Regions from separate parts of the Homo sapiens genome. Here all the other regions are linked to region 3. The links are contacts of gene promoters, found by promoter capture Hi-C in human tissues and cell types (Jung and others, 2019). All regions are on one chromosome and are shown on one strand. The core of a region is centred on a gene start or on the middle of the fragment in contact, and the rest is flanking DNA. Distances in the headings are between cores, read along the strand shown. Region 1 has its middle 15 kb from the start of PNPLA5. Region 2 holds the start of PNPLA3 (patatin like domain 3, 1-acylglycerol-3-phosphate O-acyltransferase). Region 3 holds the start of MPPED1 (metallophosphoesterase domain containing 1). Region 4 overlaps EFCAB6 (EF-hand calcium binding domain 6). Region 5 overlaps EFCAB6 (EF-hand calcium binding domain 6).

Region 1 (2,700 bases), core at 4-2,503, 490 kb after region 3:
AAAATCCAGGTGCACCTCCTGCCCTCAGTGCCTACGACGTAGCGTGCTGTCACAGTACACGCCGTTATAATTCGTTATTAAAGCCACAATTGTCCTGTGCTACTCTGCTAGAGCTCTTCCTATTTTTGATTATAAATTTATGTGTTTTGGCCACCAACCCAGAAACTTCCAGAAAGCAGGGACCATGAATCCCTCTGGAAAACAGTGTTAATTATAATCTTAGCAGTCACAGTGATTGTAACGCTAGCAGTTACTGTTTCTTGAACATCTACCCCATGCCAGGCGCTGTCCAGCATGTTCTGTGGAGACATTAATGGAATCGTCACAGCGACCCTTCCAGGGAGGAGGTCTCATCCCCACTTCTCAGCCCTGCCCGAGGTCACAGAGCTGTCTGTGGTGTTAAGCTTGCTTCATCTGACCCTGTGGCCAATCCCCACATCCGCCACACCATCTGTCTTCCACGAGGCTGCAGAGACTCAGTAAGTGTTGGATGGAATAATTGTTTATTTTTTGGTGGGGGCTGGGGGTGGGAGCCCAGTGTTTTAGATAATGAGAAAACAGATAAATTCCTGATAAACATGCTCCCAACAGGTCTACAGCGATGTGCTATAATATGTGTCCTTTAAGCTGTAAGAACTAACAGCAGAGCCCAGATGTGCAAGGCCCCCTCAATCTAAGCCCTTAATTATCATTTATTTATTTATTTTATGTTTGAGAAAGGGTCTTCCTCTGTTGTGCAGGCTGGAGTGGAGAGGTGCAGTCATGGCTCACAGCAGCCTCAAACTTCCAGGTTTCTAGCGATCCTCCCACCTTAGCTTCCTAACTAGCTTGGACTACAAGTGCGTGCCTCCATGTCCTGTTAATTAAAAAATAAATTTTTTTAAGAGATGGGGGTCTCACTGTGTTGCCCAGGCTGGTCTCAAGCTCCTGGGCTCAAGTGATTCTCTCTGGCCTTGGCCTCCCAAAGTGCTGGGATTACAAGCAAGAGCCACCACACCTGGTCCTCAGTTTTGTTTTGTTTTGTTTTGTTTCATTAAAAAAAAAAAAAATTCGGCCGGGCACAGTGGCTCATGCCTATAATCCCAGCACTTTGGGAGGCCAAGGCGGGCGGATCATGAGGTCAGGAGATGGAGACCATCCTGGCTAACACAGTGAAACCCCATCTCTACTAAAAATACAAAAAAATTAGCTGGGCATGGTGGCGGGCACCTGTACTGCCAGCTACTCGGGAGGCCGAGGCAGGAGAATGGCATGAACCCAGGAGGTGGAGCTTGCAGTGAGCCGAGATGGCACCACTGCACTCCAGCCTGAGTGACAAAGCGAGACTCCATCTCAAAAAAAAGAAAAAAAGAAATTCACCTCTGTAGCAGCCAGAAGCCTTTACTTTTTAGCACAGAGCAAATGGAAAGTGTGCCTGGGACAGCACGAGGCTTGGAGGTTCTGCAGAGCTACCCCAGGCACCTGTTTCATTTGGTCCTCTGTGTGTGGCTCAGCTGTGACGTTGGAGCTCTGGCCTTCTTATTCCCACTTTATAGGTGGGGAAACTGAAGCAGCAAGGGCGTGGCTCGGCCAAGGCCACACAGTGGGTCTGGGCCAGATCGGAGGCCTCTAATTAGGAGGTCTGGGCCCTAATTGGTGTCCCCTCCCTTTGCCTAGAGTAGTGATTGGGCCCTGCCCCAATGGGTGCCAACCTGTTCGGGTGCCAGGGTGCCTGTTGGTTCAGAGGGTTGGGGATGGAGTTGTTTCATGTCCTGCTGACCCCTCCCCTCTTTCTTCCTACAGGTTGTGCTTCAGGCCCCCCTCTTCCCAAATGGCATCTGAGTCCTGCGGTGGGCTGTGGGCTCTCTCTATACTCATACCAAGCAGCTGTGGCTCCTCCATGGGATGTGGTCAGGCCCTGGGGCACCTGAGAACCCTGCCCCATGTCCAACCTCCTGTGGGGGCTGGCCCAGGGCTCCACAGCAAAACCCAGGCTGCCTCTGAGCCCTGCCAGAAGGTGGGCATCAGAGACGCTTCTGCAGAATGTGGAGAAGATGCAGGGATGGGGAGTCCCCAGGTCCCCGTGAACTGACTTCTCTCGGCTCCACACGACGCAGAGTCTCCGCTCCATGTCAGCCTCAAGGCTGAGACTGGTAAAGTATGATTTCTACCTCCTGCAGTCACAAACCCCTGTAAGAGTTTGAAGAAAGCCTCCGCGGGAAGGAGCATATTTGTCCCGACTCACAATGTTGGGACCACAGCGCCAGGGGAACCTGCGGGGCCAGTCTCCAAAGTCAGCCCAGAACCCCAGTCTGCAGTGAGTGGCTGGGACCTCGCCCCGGTAGACACACTTCTGGGTGTGTTTAAAGAACGCTGGGTGAAATTGACTCCTGTTTTTTCAGACAATCCTCTCTCCAACAGAAGATTATGGCAGTGGATGCCCTTCTGAAGAGGGAAGTGTCCAGAATGGTTGAATGGAGGGTGTCCCCATTTCCGCAGCGACTGTCCCTGCGTGAGTTCTTGAGTTGAACATGTGTCAACTGGATGTCACAAGGGTTCACTTGTCAGGGGGTTGGGGTGTCAGCAATGGGGTGTCGTTTGCCTTTAAAAAAATTTCAGGCCAGGTGGGGTGGCCCACGCCTGTAATCCCTGAACTTTGGGAGGCCAAGACGGTTGGATCCCCTGAGGTCAGGAGTCCGAGATCAGCCTGGCCAACATGGT
Region 2 (2,700 bases), core at 115-2,614, 510 kb after region 3:
GGTAGGTCAAGGTCAAGGGGCCTCTTAGGCATCTCCTAAGGGCATGCTACTATCCAAATGTTTGTGTCCCCACTAAAGGTCATCTGTTGAAATCCTACACCTTAAGGTGATGATCTTTGGAGGCGGGGGCCTTTGGAAGGTGATTTGATGAGAGGGTGGCACCCTTATGAATGGGATTGGTGCCCTTATCAAAGAGGCCCAGAGGTGAGGATGTGGCAAGATGGCACCTTCTACGAGCCATACCTCTCACCAGGGACCAAATCTGCTGGTATCTTGAACTTGGGCTTTCCAGCCTCCAGAACTGTGAGACAGAGAAATAAGCCAGGCGAAGTGGCTCACCCCTGTAATCCCAGCATTTTGGGAGGCTGAGGTGGGTGATGACTTGAGGTCAGGAGTTCTAGACTAGCCTGGCCAACATGGTGAAACCCCATCTCTACTAAAAATACAAAAAATTAGTCAGGCATGGTGGCGCATGCTTGTAATCCCAGCTACTCGTGAGGCTGAGGCAGGAGAATCCCTTGAACCCGGGAGGAAGAGGCTGCAGTGGGCCAAGATCGTGCCATTGCACTCCAGCCTGGGGGGAAAAAGATAGAAATAAATCTCTTGTTTGTAAGCCCCTCCGCTTTAAGGTGTTTTGTTTTCGCACCTGAACGGACTAAGGGACTAAGGGACCAGGAATCATCCAGGCCTCAGCTTCCCAAAGCACTCCCCACTCCCCAGTTCCTACAGGGCCCCGACCCCAGCCCCAGCACCCGTCATTCACATTTTTTACTTACAAAGGAAACTTTGAAATGGACACTTCCTGTTACTTTCATTCAATGAAAAAAATCCCCAGCACTTGAAGGCAATCATACAGAAAGCCTGCAACAACGCAGAGAGTAGACTCTTCAGGTGGTGGTGCCTGCTTTAGGCTGGCTCTCCCCGGGTCAAAAGGGACGTGATAAAGTGTTAAAGTGATGTTAAGGATCAAGTGGGCACCAACTGCGACTCCCCTCCCACCCCCCGACTTAACAGATGTCAAGGAAAACAGAAGGAAGCCGTTTCTCTCCAGGACATGCAGTGTCTGCTGGAGTTTTGGAAAAATGCTTTCTCTCGAGTCGCTGCGGGGAGCTCCCAGGCTGGACCCCCCCGCACAGGTCCTCCGCCATCGCCCTCCCAGCCCCCGCCCCCAATCCCCCTCCCAGACCCGGTCCCCGCCCCCATCCCCCGCCAGACGTCGTCCCCACCCCCATCCCCCTCCAAGCCCCGCCCGGGAGGGCGTCCTGCCCGCTCATTGGGCCTCCCGCCGGCTCATTTGCATGGTCCGAGGGGGGCGGGGCTGACGTCGCGCTGGGAATGCCCTGGCCGAGACACTGAGGCAGGGTAGAGAGCGCTTGCGGGCGCCGGGCGGAGCTGCTGCGGATCAGGACCCGAGCCGATTCCCGATCCCGACCCAGATCCTAACCCGCGCCCCCGCCCCGCCGCCGCCGCCATGTACGACGCAGAGCGCGGCTGGAGCTTGTCCTTCGCGGGCTGCGGCTTCCTGGGCTTCTACCACGTCGGGGCGACCCGCTGCCTGAGCGAGCACGCCCCGCACCTCCTCCGCGACGCGCGCATGTTGTTCGGCGCTTCGGCCGGGGCGTTGCACTGCGTCGGCGTCCTCTCCGGTATCCCGCTGGGTGCGTCTGGGGACGCTGCCCGGGCTCCACGTGCGGAGTGGGTGCCCCCTAGGCCGGGGAGCGGGGGATCCCCAGGGGTCGCGGGGCCCTGGAGGAGCGGGCATCGGACGCGGACACGGCGGGGTGCATCCCGAGGGCCCCCTCCGAGGCAGATGCTTCCTGCGGGGGCGCTGTTCCTGGGCCCGGGAAGGGGGCGTTGGAACCCCGAGCGGTCCGGGCCGAAGCCTGGGACTCTCGTGCGTCCCCACCCCTACCCCCATCAGGCGCCCGTGCATGAAGGGAGACCCTCACCTCCGGACTGAGAGTCGGAGCGTCTCGGAGCGACGGGGAGTAGGGAGCGGGACCCGGGGCGGAGGGTAGTGCTGGCCCCTGCGGACTCCGGGTCCCCTGTGTCCTCTCGGGAGGGGCTGGACGGGCTGAGCTGCCGAGGGGCCGATTTGCCCTGGGCCGGACAAAGAGTGGGGCTTTGGCCGGTCCCCCACGGTGGGCTCCTTCCCTCTGGGGATTGAGGGACTCAAGACACCCCGCGCCTGCGCTTTTCTTTTCTTTTTTTCTTTTTTTTTTTTTGAGACGGAGTTTCGCTCAGTCGCCCAGGCTGGAGTGCAGTGGCGTGATCTCAACTCACTGCAAGCTCCACCTCCCAGGTTCACGCCATTCTCCTGCCTCAGCCTCCCGAGTAGCTGGGACTACAGGCGCCAGCCACCAAGCCCGGCTAATTTTTTGTATTTTTTAGTAGAGACGGGGTTTCACCGTGTTAGCCAGGATGGTCTCGATCTCCTGACCTCGTGATCTGCCCACCTCGGCCTCCCAGAATGCTGGGGTTACAGGCGTGAGCCACTGCTCCCTGCTGCCTACGCTCTCTGGGTCGCAGCCCAGCCTTCTGGGGGCTGGGTAGCCTCCCAGAAGGGCAACCCTGGGCATCCTCCAGGGCAGGCTAACTGGAGTCTAGTGGGGAGGGGTACCTTGAAAGAGGAAAGTTGTTTCCTCCTCCTCCTCCTCCTCCAGTGTTTGGGACCCTTCCTGGGGGCTGGAGTGCATCCCT
Region 3 (2,700 bases), core at 131-2,630:
AAACCCTCTATGGCTCCCACTGCCCCTGATAAAGTCTATCCAAGGCTCTTCCCGATCTGGCTTCTGTTCCCTCACTCCCAGCCTTGCCACCTCATCTTCCCTCCCTTGCTTTTCCTTTGTCTCTAGCCCCAATGAACTCACATGCCAAGGCCTTTGCATGCCGCATTCCCTCGGCCTGGATGTCTTTTCCAGGCCTTCTCTCCTGGCATACACTCATTCAACTGGGCTGTCCCCACCTCCAGGAAGCCACACCAGATAGCAGTCCTCAGGGGCAGAATAGGCCTGAGGGGCCCGCAGAGGGTGTCCTTGGGGATTGTGTGATGTGTGTGTTGGTGAAGGGAGACCCTACAAGCATTTGTTGAGGGGCTTTGGGCCTCTGAGGAGCCACAGCCCCTTTTCATCTTCCTCTCAGTCTGGGAGGCCCAGGCCAGAGTGATCTGCACCCTAACTATACAAGGCCCTGGAATCCCCGTCCCACCCGCGGCAAGGGGCTGGAAGCCACAGGGCCTTAAACTCCCCAGGGTGACCCCCGACACTGAAGGCGATGGTCTCTGCTCTTCCCAGCAAGGCAGGGCCTCTTTACACTGGGTGTCGCGCCGTCTGAGTTCCTGACTTGTTTACCCATCCCGTTGGGGCTCCGGCCGCTGCAGGCTACCTGCTGTGCCCGGGATTGGGGACCTGTGACTCCCGAGTGGAAGAGATGGTGGCCCAGGAGGAGGACCCCGACCTATTCAGACTGGGAGCTGGGGTCAGAGTGTCTCCGTCTCCGGAGGGGGACCTTCCAGACCCCGGGCGGGAGGGGCCCACAGCAGGGTGCCCCGGCGGCCCCAGGAGGGGGTCCGGGCCTCGGGCGAAGGCTGCGGCGCCCCGGAAGGAGCCGCGCACGCCCCTGCACGCGGTGCCCGCTGCGGAGGCCACGGATCCGGAGGTGAGAGCGCCCCCGCCCCGCTCCCTGCCCAGCCCGCGCGCGGCCCGGTCCGGGGCTGGGGGCGGGCGCCAAGAGGGGCGCCGGGCGCAGTGGGGCGGCCCCCTCCCTTTTCCGCAGCGCGGGCCCCGCTCCTCCTCCCGCGTCCAGGCCCGCGGCCGCGCTCCCTGTCCCTCCGCAGCGGGATGCGGACTCCGAGCCCGGGCGGGGGCCGAGGGCCGAGGCCTGGCGGGCCTGGCGGGGGCCCCGGCGGGTGGCGGCGCAAGGGCCGGGACCGAGGCCGCGAGCGCGCCCCTCCCGGCGGCCGGGCGCGGAGAGGCGGGGAGGGCGGGCGTGGGGAGGCGGGCGGCGGCGGGCGGGGGGAGCCAAGGAGGCTCGGAGCCTCGCGGCGCGCGGGCGGGCGGCGGAGGGGGCGCGGGGAGCCCCCCGCCCCACGAAGGAGGAGTCTGGCTCCCACTTGCAGCCTCGGACGCGCGGCGAGGCGGCCGCCGCCGGAGGAGCCCCCGCCCCTGCGCGCCTCCCTCCCGGGAGCCCCTGCCTCCCTCGGTGCGCGCTGCTGCTCGCAGCCGCCGCGGCCGCCGAAGAGGAGCCCGGGGCCAGGTAGGACCGGAGGCGGGCGGGGCGCGGCGGGCGCGGGCGGGAGGCCGGGCGCGGGGCGCGGCCGGGACCCTCTCCAGGCGCTGGGCGACGCCCGCGGCGCTGCGCAGGGGCGCCCGCAAAGTTACTTTGGCCGCCTTTGCCGGGTGCGGGAAGCGGGCTGGGCACCCCAGCTGCCCCGCCTGCCTAGCGGGCGGCGGCGGGAGGGGGCTCCGCCAGGGCGCGGGACTCCGGCTGGGGCCGCGGGGTCAGCGAAACTTTTCCCTTGCTCGCCAGTCGCTGCTGCTGCTGGCGGAGTAGCTGGTGGAAGCAGCGGGCTGGTGGAGTGCCAGTGATGATGATAGTGGTAACAATAGCAGCCCCCGCTTGTAGAGAGCCTACTGTGTGCGCTGCCAAGCCCCTGCTGGCACTTGGGGGGGAAGAGATAGGGAACGAACGCTGGCCGAGTGGCCACTTTTGCTAGGTATTGCTGGAAACTTCATCCATTTCCTTCCATCCATTCATCCCTCCCTCCCATCCATCCATCCATCCATCCATCCATCCATCCACTCACTCAACACATATTTATTCCTGTCTGCTATGTGCTCGGCCAGGGGATTCAGTGGCTACCTAGACAGGTCCCAGCCCTCAAAGGGAATGTTGATCATGGAATGCCCAAACTAAGGAGCAGTTCTGTCTCCTGTGTGTTTGTTCTGGGACATGTTACGGGAGCGTGAATTCATGCTGTCTCCCTTCACCCTGGCAGGGCCAGAGGCGTGTCATTCAGAGCACTGATGTGCCCAGGAGTCTGGCAGGCCCCGGCCTGGCCTTCGGAACTCACCCTGCTCCTTTCCCTCCCACCTCTCCGGGCTCAAGCTGGGTGGCCCAGTTGGTGTCAGGAGGCTCCACTCCGGAACTGGCCCCCACCCCTGTCCAGCTGACCTCTCTGGGATGTCTCTTCCCCAGTGCTGGGCTGGCCTGGCTCCCAGCTCCCCTCCCAGAGTTTCTTTGCCTTCCCCCTCCCCATTTCCCCTGCTCTATTGAATGGCCCAGAGGAGAGCTTGTTAAGTGGCAAACAATTATGAAATTAAACTGGGGGAACAAAAGTGGGCTGGCTGTTGAATGGCGGAGCTGGCTCACGGGAGTTGAATGGCACTGGGAGACTTGTTAGCAGGGATCTGCGGCGCCGGGGGGCGGGG
Region 4 (2,700 bases), core at 189-2,688, 390 kb after region 3:
TTATGTGACATTCTGATTAAAAAATGAGATAAGCCAAGCACCAAAAAGAAGAATGTTGCATGTTCTCACTCATATGGAGGAGCTCAAAAAGTGGATTTCATAAAGATAGAGTAAACTGGTGGTTAGCACAGGCCAGGAAAGGTAGAGGGGAGGAGAGGATGAAGAGAGGTTGATTAATGGGTACAAATATATGGTCTGATAGAAGAAATAACACCTAGTGTTAGACAGATCAGTAAGGTGACTATAGATTACAATAACCTATTGTACATTTCAAAATAGCTAGAAAAGAAGAATTTGAATGGTTCTAACATAAAGAAAAGACAAATATCTCAGGTGATGGATATCCCAAGTATACTGATTTGATCTTTACAAATTATATGAATGTATTAAATTATCCCATGTACCCTGGAGCTATGTACATGGATTATGCATCAATAAAAATAAATAAAATTTCTTTTAAGAAAGAAAAATAGGGCTGGGAGCAGTGGCTCATGCCTGTAATCCCAACATTTTGGGAGGCCGAGGTGGGCAGATCACTTGAGGCCAGGAGTTCGAGACTAGCCTGGCCAACATGACAAAATCCTGACTCTACTAAAAATACAAAAACTTAGCTGGGTGTGGTGGTGAGTGCCTGTAATCCCAGCTACTCGGGAGGCTAAGGTACAAGAATCGCTTGAACCCAGGAGGTGAAAGTTGCAGTGAGCCGAGATCATACCACTGCACTCCAGCCTGGGTGATCAAGTGAGACTATCTCAAAAGAAAAGAGAGGAGAGGAGGGGGAGGGGAGGGGAGGGGAGGGGAAGGGAAAAAAGAGAAGAAGCAATGCTTCTCCAGGGCATAAAGACTGAAATTCAATTTTTTTTTTTTTTTGAGAGGAGGTCTCACGCTGGAATGCAGTGGTGCAATCTTGGCTCACTGCAGCCTCACCTTCAGGGCTCAAGTGATCCTTGCACCTTAGCCTCAGCCTCCTGAATAACTGGGACTGCAGGTGCATGCCACCACACCTGCCTAATTTTTGTAGAGGCAGGGTTTCACCATGTTACCCAGGCTGGTCTCGAATTTCTGGGCTCAAGTGATTCTCCCACCTCAGCCTCCCGAAGTGTTGGGATTACAGGTATGAGCCACTGCACCAGGCCTGAAATTCAAACTCTTAATTGTGGGGTAGAAGGTCATTCATATAATTAACCACCTGGCTTCAGGTGATCCTTCCAGACGCCATTACCTCCAGGCATGCTACGTTCTTACCCAGTGCTCCCAACACACCACGTAGTTCCTCACTTCTGAGCTTTGGTTCATGCCTGTGCTAGAATTTCCTTCATTCTTTTGCACCTGGCACACTTCAATTAATCTTTCAAAACTGAGGGTATATCCCCTTCCTTCAGGAGACCTTCCTATTGTCCTTAAACAAAATTAATCATGCCTTTACAAAGAACTTAAGTCTTATAGGTGTGCTTTGCTAATTGTTTCATTTAATAAAGAAAAGAACCAAAAGATAAAAGCCACTCGTAATTCCATCACTTTGCTGTGGGGCTGCAGATGTGGTGGGTAAAATATGAAGTAAAAGTTCTAATATTCTCCCATCTGTTCCTCTAGTCCTACCTCAATTTTCACTTTGATTCTCTGCTTCCAGACCTTTATGTTGGCCCCTGCTAGACAATAAGTCCCTCCAGTGGACTCCACTTACCTTTTTACACTCAACATGGCATAGCATGCAGTAAGCACCCCATTAAACTTTGCTCTTGATGGACCACAGTTATCAACACTATGACTGCAAGGGATAGAAGCTTAGGCTAATTTTACCCTTGATTTTGAAAGCTAAACAAGGTTCTGAGTATGACCAAGGCACTGTGAGGAGTTCTGTAGCTCACCCCTGACTTTACACCATCCTCAGCTGAGGTTTTCAAAATAAAGAGAATTTTGAGACATTAATGAATGTGATTACTTCAGAACTTGGTGAGGTAGAAATTGGCAAGGATCATAAAAACTAATACCCCCAAAATAAGCATCAAGTCACAGACCATCAAATACACTTCTTAACCAATGGGAAAAACACAATTAGAAGGCTATCTCACTGATATATTTGTTTATTTGCCAGAGAAGTATTGATGTCCAGTTTTAAACACGTGCTATTTATATCAGAATCATAACAAAAGTGCCATCCATCTGCCTTGGCATCCAGAGAAAACATAATTCAACACAAGAGTAAAAAGTGTGCACAGCCAAATAGAAATGGCACCAGAAGCAAAAATTGCTGGAACTGTATCATGGAGAGGGGTGTGGAAATTATCACTCGACTAAATTGGAAAAAATTGTAAGCAACACAAAAGGTTTTGGCAGTTAAATCCAAACACTTGAGAAAAATCTTCTTGTCTATACTGATATCAAATGGACTGTTATATTTTGGGACATATCAACTATCAAGTTCCCTTTATAGCCTTCCACACACTTCCATATACACATTGGCCATTTACTGAGCATCTACATTCTTGGACGGTGGAAAAATCAAAACCTTTGACGTCAAGCAGGCATAGGGTCAAACTGGCTCCACCATCCACCACAACAACTTGCAAGTTAATTAACCTCCTCCTGACTCAGTTTCCTCATTTGAAAAAGGGAGATACAGTTGTCGTCCATATCCATGGGTTCCACATCCACAGATTCAACAGTGGATTGAAAATATTCAGGAAAAATATGGATGTT
Region 5 (2,700 bases), core at 193-2,692, 320 kb after region 3:
ACCACCACGCCTGGCTAATTTTTGTATTTTTAGTAGACACGGGGTTTTTCCATGTTGGCCAGGCTGGTCTCGAACTCCTGGCCTCAAGTGATCTGCTCACCTCAGCTTCCTAAAGTGCTGGAATTACAGGCATGAGCCACTGTGCCCAGCCGAGATAACCTTTTTTTAAAGTTAAGATAAATAAGATGTTTGAATTTTTAAAATAAATTTTCTATTATTCAAGCCTTCCACCTGATAAATGGTTTTCTAGATCATTTCTGTGTTATCACATTTCTAAAAATTGATGGTTTTTAAATGTTTGGTTATATTATCTCCATATGTGTTGATTTCTATAATTATCTAATCTCATACTGCTTTCTAAAAATTTGGTAATTATCACTTAAAGTATTTATTTTTCTGTTTTCCAAATTTAACAAAGAGTAATGCCATGTAGTTATTTCAATGCATACCTTTTTTTCCACTTTGATGACTCTTGCCTATTGTTTTAATAAGATAAATGATCTCTAGGTGTGATCGCTGCCAGATGTTAACAGTGAAACTCCCTAAAGAGCTTCATCTTTCATCTACGGTCTCTGTCTTGTGAAAATGAGGTGGTAAGTTTGAGAAACCAGAAGACCCAATTGAGGGGAGAAGGGTATGACTCCAATCAGCTCATAAACCTCTCCAGCGTCACCACCTGGAACTGGGTTTCATTCATCTGCTCAGGCAACAGGCTGAACTGTAGTGATTTGTTTGCTGGTTTTACAAGGCTGCTCATAAATGATTTCACCTATATCAAACACACTGGCCTCCAGGGCAGTGGAGAGTAGGCTGGAGGGAGATGGGAAACACAACACTCAATGGGTTTTGAGATGTCCTGATTAAGTATGGGGCTTGGTGGTAATTGTATCTCTGGCCTCTTGTTTTATGTAGGTTGGAGAGTAGTCTGCTGCCTAAATGGAACAGGTCATCAGAGGGTAAAGGGCATTCACGGAGTCTTTATGATGATGAGATGGTCACTGTGAAATCAGCCCTACTATGTGCAAGCGCATCACAGGCATGTTGTTTACATTTTGTTGAGTCTTCATCCCAGCCCTGAGAGGTGGGCTGCTCAGTCCCCCCTTTTTTTCTTTAAGATGGAGTCTCGCTCTGTTGCCAGGCTGGAGTGCAGTGGTGCGATCTCAGCTCACTGCAACCTCCGCCTCCCGGGTTCAAGCGATTCTCCTGCCTCAGCCTCCCAAGTAGCTGGGACTACAGGTGTGCACCACCATGCCTGGCTAATTTTTGTACTTTTAGTAGAGATGGGGTTTCACCATGTTGGCCAGGACGGTCTCAATCTCTTGACCTCATGATCCGCCTGCCTCAGCATCCCAAAGTGCTGGGATTACAAGCGTGATCCACCGCGCCCGGCCAGTCCCCATTTCTTTAAGAGAAAACTGAGTCTTGACAAGGCCCAGGAGCTACTCTGAGGCCCTAGAACCAGGGAGGAGAGAGCACAGACTTCACCTCCAGCAGCCTGACTTCAAAGCCTGGGCCATTTCTACCACACCAAGAGCCGAATGTTGATATTAAATAGAAAGCTGTTAGATAAAAGAGAGGATTCAAAAATGCATTGTTTCTTGCTCAAAAATAAAAAAGACAAAGTTAATACTGAAGCAGCTTCTCCAGGAAAGAGTATATTCTTGAGCTTCAATAAGAAAAGCATTAAAGCAATTGAAGAAATGGTCTACTTTTGATCTTCTGTGTTTCTGAGTCTAAAAGAAAGCAATTCTATTATGTTCATTTTCTCAAGCCTTATCATGAAAATAGCATTGTTTTTGAGGCTTAAAAAATCTCAAATAAAAATTTGTGGAGTTATTATTCAATACTTATGAGATGGGGAAACAGACAGTAACATTTTTTATAGATTTACTAGGTTGGAGACTGCAGTGCCAAACACAAGGTTTATTGTCAAATAAAACACTGTTTTGTTTTTTGATTGCCTGTTTTAGAAGAGTGCTGCCTCTGTTCTATAATTGCGTGCACAAAATTATTTAATTTGTTTTGTTTGGATCTTATTCTGGACACTTTCCCAGCCGGAAAAGATGTAAAAATTAAAACATCTATTATGTGTTTTATATTCTGAGGTGGGTTATAAAGAGAAAAAAAAAAGAAAAACATACTCAAAAGAGAAACAGATGCTATTTTTTCAAGTCTGCCTGCTTTTCAGGCCCTGCAGCATCAGTGACATGTCACATGCCCTCTAGACTTCCTTGCCTCAGGGGCAAATTCTTCCACTCTGCTTCTAGCAGCAGCCACATTGTCTTTATGAGATACAAGGAGCTACCGGGACCCATTTTCATAGCAACTTAGAACACCAGTGCAATGCGAAAAGCTTGGGCTCCGGGTGAAATGAGGCTTGGTGCTTTTGTTAATGGTCTGGAGCGTATTTAGAAAAGTGTTTGGGAAAAGGCACGAAGAGGGAATGGACCTCTCGGCTGGGTACTGTAGAAATTAAGCTAGACACGGGCCCATCTTCCAGTGGCTTTCACTCAAAACTCATGTAGTCACAGAAGCCAAACATTTGGCTTCTTCTAAATGATGTGGAGTTTATAGGAGGCTCAAAAAAATGCCCGTGCAGGCTTCTGTGTGCTGCCCTTGGAGTCAGGAGCAGGTGGTGGTGGCGTTCAAACACCATGAGGCAGCTAAATGTTCTGCTGTTCGTCACCCTCCTGCCGCACA

What was found. Contacts are between HindIII fragments. The study calls those that stand out against the background at their distance.
Region 1: a contact is called between a fragment that was not itself captured here and the fragment with the promoter of MPPED1 in region 3, in 3 of the 25 tissues and cell types used here (bladder, lymphoblastoid cells and spleen).
Region 2: a contact is called between the fragment with the promoter of PNPLA3 here and the fragment with the promoter of MPPED1 in region 3, in 3 of the 25 tissues and cell types used here (H1 embryonic stem cells, IMR-90 fibroblasts and lymphoblastoid cells).
Region 4: a contact is called between a fragment that was not itself captured here and the fragment with the promoter of MPPED1 in region 3, in 2 of the 25 tissues and cell types used here (IMR-90 fibroblasts and dorsolateral prefrontal cortex).
Region 5: a contact is called between a fragment that was not itself captured here and the fragment with the promoter of MPPED1 in region 3, in 8 of the 25 tissues and cell types used here (IMR-90 fibroblasts, bladder, dorsolateral prefrontal cortex and 5 more).

Annotation. Positions count from the first base shown.
Region 1 is chr22:43,905,598-43,908,297 of GRCh38, forward strand. No RefSeq gene overlaps it. Among named protein-coding and RNA genes, the nearest start is that of PNPLA5, 15 kb to the left of the region's middle. RefSeq lists an enhancer at 1-66. The HindIII fragment of the contact is 6,970 bases long and covers 1-2,700 here.
Region 2 is chr22:43,922,441-43,925,140 of GRCh38, forward strand. PNPLA3 (patatin like domain 3, 1-acylglycerol-3-phosphate O-acyltransferase) reads left to right here and starts at 1,365. Exons shown (of 9, transcript NM_025225.3): 1 at 1,365-1,658. The coding sequence starts at 1,472. RefSeq lists enhancers at 1,180-1,924, 1,925-2,667. The HindIII fragment of the contact is 10,497 bases long and covers 1-2,700 here.
Region 3 is chr22:43,410,634-43,413,333 of GRCh38, forward strand. MPPED1 (metallophosphoesterase domain containing 1) reads left to right here and starts at 1,381. Exons shown (of 7, transcript NM_001044370.2): 1 at 1,381-1,525. The HindIII fragment of the contact is 18,974 bases long and covers 1-2,700 here.
Region 4 is chr22:43,805,410-43,808,109 of GRCh38, forward strand. The region is part of intron 2 of EFCAB6 (EF-hand calcium binding domain 6); the gene reads right to left. Among named protein-coding and RNA genes, the nearest start is that of EFCAB6, 5.5 kb to the right of the region's middle. The HindIII fragment of the contact is 3,918 bases long and covers 1-2,700 here.
Region 5 is chr22:43,732,616-43,735,315 of GRCh38, forward strand. The region is part of intron 7 of EFCAB6 (EF-hand calcium binding domain 6); the gene reads right to left. Among named protein-coding and RNA genes, the nearest start is that of EFCAB6, 78 kb to the right of the region's middle. The HindIII fragment of the contact is 8,243 bases long and covers 1-2,700 here.